Linked DNA regions of Homo sapiens: region 2 is linked to region 1. The links are contacts of gene promoters, found by promoter capture Hi-C in human tissues and cell types (Jung and others, 2019). All regions are on one chromosome and are shown on one strand. Each heading gives the region's core, a stretch centred on a gene start or on the middle of the fragment in contact. The rest is flanking DNA. Distances are from core to core; before and after follow the strand shown. Region 1 holds the start of WDR4 (WDR4 tRNA N7-guanosine methyltransferase non-catalytic subunit). Region 2 overlaps TRAPPC10 (trafficking protein particle complex subunit 10).

Region 1 (3,965 bases), core at 563-3,062:
CACAAAATCTATGCGACATGGTTATAAGAAATTACGGGCCGGGCGCGGTGGTTCACGCCTGTAATCCCAGCACTTTGGGAGGCCGAGATGGGCGGATCACGAGGTCAGGAGATCGAGACCAGCCTGGCTAACACAGTGAAACCCCCATCTCCACTAAAAATATAAAAAATTAGCCAGGCATGGTGGCAGGCGCCTGCAGTCCCAACTACTCGGGAGGCTGAGGCAGGAGAATGGCGTGAACCCGGGAGGCGGAGCTTGCAGTGAGCCAAGATCGCGCCACTGCACTCCAGCCTGGGCGACAAAGCGAGACTCCTCAAAAAAAAAAAAAAAGAAAAAAAAGAAATTATGTTCTGATACTGTTGAGCGTTCAGTGGGATTCTGTATACAAATTTCAAAGAGCCATTACTATTTAGAAACATATCTCACCTACCTGAAAGTGTTCCCATGACCCCAGGCACTTACCAACATAAGAATCACCCATTTTCCATACTGAACCTAAACTTCGGTTTATCCCATCCTCACCCCCTGGCACGTATCTTGTACATATTTATAGCCTTTAAAGCGAGTGCACCAAAAAACTTTCCATATGGAACCGTGGACTTGTCTTCCAAGTCAGAAACTCCACCAGCCACTAGAATTTCCTCAAAATGCAAAGACTGAAGGTAAGCAAATCATGTCTAATATATCCACAGCTCACTCTGGCAGATATTAGACCGTGAGTCTCTAAAACAAAATCATCTGGGATATGTGACGGGTTTCTGAGTACAATTTTTGTGAGACCTAACTTAACATCGAATTGGCTTTCTAAAACCAAACGAACAAAAAATATACAGTATATCTGACAGACACGTCGTCCGTTTCAAATATGAAATCACAAATAACCTGGGAAAGGAAACGAGGGGCTGAAACTGACAGCACTACTAATTGCTCCGAGAGTCCTGAGTTAGGACTGTTCCATCAACAAACATTTACTAAGTTAAAAATCCCCTGCGTCGTCCTAGCACTGGCGATACACTAAGGAAGGAGAATAAAATTACGGAAAGCAAAACCCGAGCCGTGCGAAGGGCCACTAGGGAGGTGCGCACTGCGAGCTCCACGTGCACCCTTGGGTTGGGTAAGTGTCGGAGATGACTTGGAGCCCTAAGGAGCAATTAAGGCCAGGTGAGTGGATGCAGGCCGGGAAGAGGGAACAGACAACCCTGCAAAAAGAGGGAGCGCGCTTGGAGGTCAGTGAGCTCGCAGTGAGTAAGCCCCTCCCTTCTCACCAGGGAGACCCGAGACCCGCTTCTTCCCAGTTCTGCAGAGCGTGTTCGGCCGGGCCTTGCTGACTGGTCAGCGTCGCCCCACGTGCTCTACCTACCCGGTCCCCGCCGGCGCCGCGGAGACCGGAAGCGACCCGGCGGCGCTAACCGGGCAAGAACACCGCAGACCAGCCATCTAGTGCAAGGAGCGCGCCGGAGCCGGGGAGCGGACGCCGAGAGCGGACGGCGAAAGCGGACCCTCCAGGCGCAGAGACGCGGCCAGGCCGAGACTGCGGCGGAGGACTCGTGGGCTGGAGCGGAGTTCCCCGGGGTCACCCCAGAGTGGGTGCGACCAGGCGGTGCGGGAGAAGCGGGGTCGCCAGGACCCGACGCGCGCCCGCAGCCTGGTCTCCCTGTTCCAAGACCAAGGCCCCCTCACCTGCTTGCTATGGAGGTGGCCAGGAATCGGCTGCCGCCCCGCACCACCAACGTCTGCCCGCACAACGCCAGTCCCACAGAGCCCGCCATGTACCCGCCCGCCTCACCGCCATACACATGTGCCAGCCCAGAGCCTCTTCCTGTCCGCACCGGTCGGTGACGCCAGGCGCAGACGCCGAGAGATGACGTATACCCCACGTACCGCGCATGCTCAAGGACGAGCCTGCCTTGAGCATGCGTGAAAGGTGCTGTGACCGCCCTCCGGGTTGTGGCTGGTGGCCTTCGGTGTTTCGGGTTTGGCAGTTCACTCACCAAGGTGATCTGATGGAGTGCACTTCGCACGATTCCAAGTACTTGCCTAATGTTCATCCTTTCCTCTAGACGGGGTAGGGCTGGTTCTGGATCTTTTTCCGCGGTAGCTGGAGAGACGTAGGACCTGATGATGGCTACTAGATGCCTGGTAAATGATCCTTCAAGAAGTGAATGAACCGGGGGCCGTGGCTCACATGAAGTCAGCAGTTCGAGAGCAGCCTGACCAATATGGTGAAACCCCGTTTCTACTAAAAGTACAAAAATTTGTTGGGCGTGGTGGCGTGCGACTGTAGCCCCAACTACTTGGGAGGCTGAGACAGAAGAATTGCCTGAACCCGGGAGGCGGAGGTTGCAGTGAGTCGAGATCGCCCCCGCTGCACTCCAGCCAGGGCGACAGAGCGAGACTCTCTCTCAAAAAAAAAAAAAATGTCCAAGATGTGGTCATGGGTGAGGGTGTCTCGGGTGGCGTCAAGTCTGAGGTCGCTAGAAGTAAGCCTACTGAATCTTTGCACTTAGACAAGCCACAGATGCCTTAAAATCTCCGAACTGTAGTGATATTTTCAACCCAAACTATGGTTAGTTTCCAGTGTTCATCCCAAGATCCCCAAAAGCCTCTTACAATCCCAGCATCAGGCACAAAATCTAGGATCTCACGGTCTGTTTTAGATTGGCTTGTCCGGTGCAGCTCCTCTTGATCCAGAGACTTACAAACTAAAAAGATTAATTTTCTCTCCCGTGCACGCAATATATGATGGTGAGCCGGGACCAGATAACCACAATAAATACTTGCATGTGAAAATGAGAAGAGGAGGAGACACAGTAATCACTGGTCCAAAGCAATTCTGAAATCCTACTGGAAGATGTTTTCAGGCCCTACAAGAATAAGAAGTCTTAACCAGGCCCGAGTTCTGCTTCCTGGGAGTATCTCCCCAGGCTGTATCTCAGCACAGCTCTTGCCTCTGCCCTCTTGGGTGTCCCTCCTTTTCCAGCACCTTCTTGGCCATGTTGAAGAATGTGCCCTTTGAGAAACTTTCTCAACCTCCTTCCTGTCATTAGCAAATTGTGAGCCCACAGACCTTTTTTCACTCTAAACTGTTCTGTCCACATTTTGGCAGCTGGTGGTGCTTTGTTCACTACAAGTCCCTTAAAAGCTTTATGGGCTTCTCAAGAATCTGATTCAGGTGCTCTCCATGCCCAAGAAGCCACTCCCACTAGTCTTTTTTTTTTTTTTAGACGGAGTCTCGCTCTGTCGCCCAGGCTGAAGTGCAACCTCCACCTCCCGAGTTCACGCCATTCTCCTGCCTCAGCCTCCTGAGTAGCTGGGACTACAGGCGCCCGCCACCACGCCTGGCTAATTTTTTGTATTTTTCAGTGGAGACGGGGTTTCACCATGTTAGCCAGGATGTTCTGGATCTCCTGACCTTGTGATCCGCCTGCCTCGGCCTCCCAAAGTGCTGGGATTACAGGCGTGAGCCACCGCGCCCAGCCACTTGTTAACATTTAAATCATTGAGATCACCTTGACTTCAGCATTATTCTTAAGGCCATATTTTATTAGCGCCACTCTGAATTTGATCTTTGGCCCAGGTTATGACTTACTTTGAGAACTTGTTACCAACTATTGGGTCTAATAATACTTTCCCCAGCTTCAACCCAAAGTGTGCTCTAAATTCTGCTGGCCAGTTTGTTTGTTTGTTTGTTTTTAACCACACTCTTTTCTATAAGTGTCTCAACATATTCAAGCAAAAGAAACACAGGTTAATCTCAACATTATACTGATATGATCTTTTTCAAGTCCCAGAGTTCAGTAGTTGCCTTTTTCTCTGCCCATCTTACTGAAGGGCAACAATTTTACAAATCCTTCACCGTGACATAGAGTTGTTCACCATTTGTCCACCTCCCGTAGTTTTCCTCACCATTGTTCCAGTGTTCACTACCAGTTTCCCCACTGCTTTTCCAGACTTCTAGTCCAAAG
Region 2 (3,965 bases), core at 854-3,353, 1.2 Mb after region 1:
TACGTTGATAAATTGCTCAAAAATAGAACTCTGTTCTCAACATGCTGGAGTTTGTGCCGGTCCAGAGCAAGCCTCTTAGATGAGCTTCTCAGTGAAGCTCACTGGCTGACTGCGGCCTGTGCTGCTGCGTGAGCTGTCTCCACGGGGAAGAGTCACTCACCTGAGGGACACGCAGAGCTAGATTTTGCATGTAGACATTTATTTTATTTCAGACACTTATGTCATGTAGACATTTATTTATTTGTCTTTTCAGATAAATAGTTTTGCACATGGCCATGCAGGTAGCAATGTGAGTGACACACAGCAGGCTGTGCCCCATTGATTAGTAGTACGGAGCTTCATGGAAGATATGTCATAAATATGTGTGTGTGTGTGTGTGTGTGTGTGTGTGTGTGTGAGTGTGAGAATGTAGTTAGTAAAACATTTGCCCTTAGAGATAAATTCACCCAAGCACTGAACTCTTACTGTCCATAGAACCACGGACATTGTAGTGAGATGAAAGGACTGTAGAGACCGTATCTAGTCTGGTGATTCTTGTTTCAGGGTCCTCTTTACCCAAAACAATTCACACACACACAAAATGATACTTACGACCTGAGGATTTGTGTACATCCCTGCCACCCATCCCCTGGTTAAGATCTCCTGAGTGAGTGGTCTCTGATGCTGTTTTGTAAACAAGAAAACGGAGTCTGGAAGTGATTAGGTCTGAAGAGTATAAGCCATTGATGGGGACGGTGTTTCATAATATAGGAACTTATTTTTGTGTGCTTGGTTTAAAATAATTTTAAGAGATTTAAACTTTAATTAATGAAGAGAAATATATTTTAGTTAATTTCAAAAGGAGAAGTTCTTATTTCAGAGCTAAGCTCATTAGTACCTAGCCCAAGTCACAAACTCAGAAACTTAAGAATTTTTATCAAATGATTTTTCTTCACCTAATGAAGCAAATGAGGAAAAGAAACATTTTCCACCTCGAAATGACCCTCTGGGCTGCCTGTAATCACCTGGATTTAGAGACTCTGCCTGGGTTGCTCAGCCCTAACTGCAGGTTGGGGACGGGGCTGTGAGGGAACCATTCACTCCTAGAGCCGGGCTCTCTGTTCATGTGTACCTAGGGATTTCACCTGATGTTGAGATTTTTGTCTTACTAGCCGGGAGGGGGGAAAATTGAAGTATTCAAGTCCAAATGATTCAGACATGATGTCTTCTGAGTGAGACGACCCCAGGAGGCTGATTGGAGAGGGCTGTTAGTTTTGTTATTACCTTGTGGCTGGAAGGAGAAATGTGTAAGTAATAGAGGGTGTGGGCTCTGGAGTTCCCTTGTAGCGTCGGGGTTCACAGGAGCCATACGGGGTCTGTTGGCTCCTCTAGGTGCTCGTCTGCAGGGCCGGGAAGTCACAGGTATTTTCAAGGCTTTGTATCGTGTGAGGAGCCTCTTATCCGTGGTGTATTTTCCGAGCCCTTTGCTTTGCTGAATGAAGTTGTTGTCCCCTTGGCCTTTCCTTGAGTGGAAGCTGCCCCATTGCTTTTAGTCATAGCTATTGCACCTCTTTGCACGGTTGAGTTCTGCATCTCCAGTGAGAGGAGGTGGCCAAAGGTGAATGCTGGATTTGAGGCAAGGACGTGTCACCCACTGATGACTTTCTCACAGTCTGTCAGTCTCTTTCCTTCTAAGAACCCGCTTCCTGTTTCGTCATCTTCTGATGCACACAGCTGGCTGCGCCTCCTTACATGCGCTGTGCCTGTCGGCTTCCCAGGCCAGAGAGGACAGCCTCCCTTGTCGCTTGTGTTGAAGCCCACACAATCCTCTTTGCACACTTTGCACCTGTGTTTGATCAACACTGAGATTCACACTGTTTACTTAGAGGGCTTCGCTGGTAACTTCACGTCAGAAGTGTTTCTCTTTCTCTCCTTTTTTCTAAATTTTTAAATTTTTTGGTAGAGATGAGTGTCTCACTGTGTCGCCCAGGCTGGTCTGGAACTTCCGGGCTCAAGTGATCTTCCCTGCTCCCCTCCCAAAGTGCTGGGATTACAGGTCTGAGCTGCCCGTGGCTGTGTTTTTCTCTCTTGTGCAGTAGTTTTTACTCCAGTCTAGTTGTTAGGATTTTTTGGTGAGAGTCAGGTTTTAGGGCTACAGTTGAGCAGAGGCCAGGGGGTAGGTGTGCCACTGTCAGTTGCAGATCCCACTGTCCCACTTTCGAGTGGGTGGCTTATAAAACATGTCCTGCTAACATCCTGGTTGCTTTACCAGTTGATTTGAAGTACCTCATTTATTTAAAGAGAATAGGAGGCAACGAAGTGGCCAGCTGTGATGGAAACTAGCCCTGCTCTGTAGTAGGGCTTGATCCACACTCCAGGGGCGACGGGGGCTGAGGAGGGGAGCAAGACGGCCGGATAGAGGCCTCTGCCCTGTGGGTGCTGCTTACTAGCCTTGCGCACTCCCTTAATGGAAAATGTGTTAAGAATGGAGATTGTGCCTACCTTGCACAGCTGGCTGCTGGGGTGAGCGGTAACACCCGTGAAGTGAGGCCAGTTCTGCGTGAGTTCAGGATCCTCCTTGACAGAGTATTTCCTTTTTTTTTCTGTAACAATTTCTAATTTTCCCTCCATTTACAAAAGTTGAATGTTTTCTTTATGTAAATTTGGAAAATAACAGACAAATATACGAAGAAAATGTCGTTGCTTTTGCTAGCAGGAAGAGGTTCCCTTTTTTTGTCCATGGCCTTCTTATGTATAGATGAACTGCAGTTATTTCCTTGCTCCTATTTGGACATTTGAATTCTTCAAAATTCTTTGCAATTGCAGCAGTTTGTATCCTTATACATACATCTTTGTGTGTAAATTCATACAAGTAGAATTGGAAGGTCGAAGATAGACATGTTTTTAAAGCTATATGTTGTTAATTTGTCCTCCAGAAAGGTCTTCCCATTTTCAGTCATGCTAGTGATGCCTGTTTTCCTGCACCTTTGGTAAGAAAAAAGTATGATACTTATATATTTTGTCGCCAAATTAGAAGAACGGGGAAGATACTTTCTTGAAGGCCATAATGTGTTTGTTACAATGATTGCCCAAGTGATTTTTTGGGGGGGTTTGGAATGTGTTTCATTCAGCGTTTGACCTTTTATCACCTTAGCTGCTGGTTATGTAACAGACCGTGTGGGCCTAGCAGGGTCAGGACTCCTCCAGACCCCAGGGGAGTCACCAGCCTAGCCTGTGGCACGGAGGAACCGTGCATGGGACGCCGTCGGAGTTAGCTGGCCGGTTTGTGAACAGAGGCTGTGTGTGGCCAACCTGCAGGTTGAACCAGAGGAAGAAGAAGGTTTACAGTCAAAGCTGGCCAGCTGGGATCGGTATTCTGAGGTGCAGGCCTGGCAGAGGACAAAGGCAGAGATGTAGTGTGGGAATGTAGATTGTGTTTGCTGAGGGCTTACAGTGTACCCGACACCCTGCTGGGTGGGTGCTCTCATGTGTAGGTGGAGGATCTTGTGCACCCATGAGCCATGAGGGGGAGGAGCTGGATTGAAGGAGGAGGGGTGGTTGTGAGAGCTGTTGCTGAAGAAGAACTGATGGCTCACTGGACAAAAGGAAAGAGAGGACTGTCAAGAATCATTCAAGAAACGTTTCCTTGCCTGCCAGGCACTGTGGGAGACAGGGATGGGGGTGCACATAAATGAAGAGGAAAGGGCCCCACCTACCGGCATGAGGTGCCACGGGTCATCAGCACAGTGTCCAAGTAGTGACGAAGTGTTGTCTGCACACAGGGGACTGTAAGGGAGGGAAAGGCAGCTTTGCCGGATGCCTCAGGTCAGCTTGGTAAACATTTGCAGGTGCCTGATAGGTGCTAGGGAAGCTTTCTAGAGGAGGCCCTATGTGAACTCCATTAAAAAGATTCATTCAGGCTGGGCACAGTGGCTCAAGCCTGTAATCCTGGCACTTTGGGAGGTCGAGGTGGGCGGATCATGAGG

The links. Contacts are between HindIII fragments. The study calls those that stand out against the background at their distance.
Region 2: a contact is called between a fragment that was not itself captured here and the fragment with the promoter of WDR4 in region 1, in 1 of the 25 tissues and cell types used here (spleen).

Annotation. Positions count from the first base shown.
Region 1 is chr21:42,877,727-42,881,691 of GRCh38, forward strand. WDR4 (WDR4 tRNA N7-guanosine methyltransferase non-catalytic subunit) reads right to left here and starts at 1,813. Exons shown (of 11, transcript NM_018669.6): 1 at 1,681-1,813. The coding sequence starts at 1,769. LOC105372817 (a long non-coding RNA gene) reads left to right here and starts at 1,986. Exons shown (of 4, transcript XR_937765.3): 1 at 1,986-2,029. RefSeq lists enhancers at 1-838, 839-1,803, 1,456-1,505, 1,536-1,645, 1,716-2,065. The HindIII fragment of the contact is 11,595 bases long and covers 1-3,965 here.
Region 2 is chr21:44,063,943-44,067,907 of GRCh38, forward strand. The region is part of intron 7 of TRAPPC10 (trafficking protein particle complex subunit 10); the gene reads left to right. Among named protein-coding and RNA genes, the nearest start is that of PWP2, 41 kb to the right of the region's middle. RefSeq lists enhancers at 1,709-1,758, 3,313-3,855. The HindIII fragment of the contact is 3,943 bases long and covers 133-3,965 here.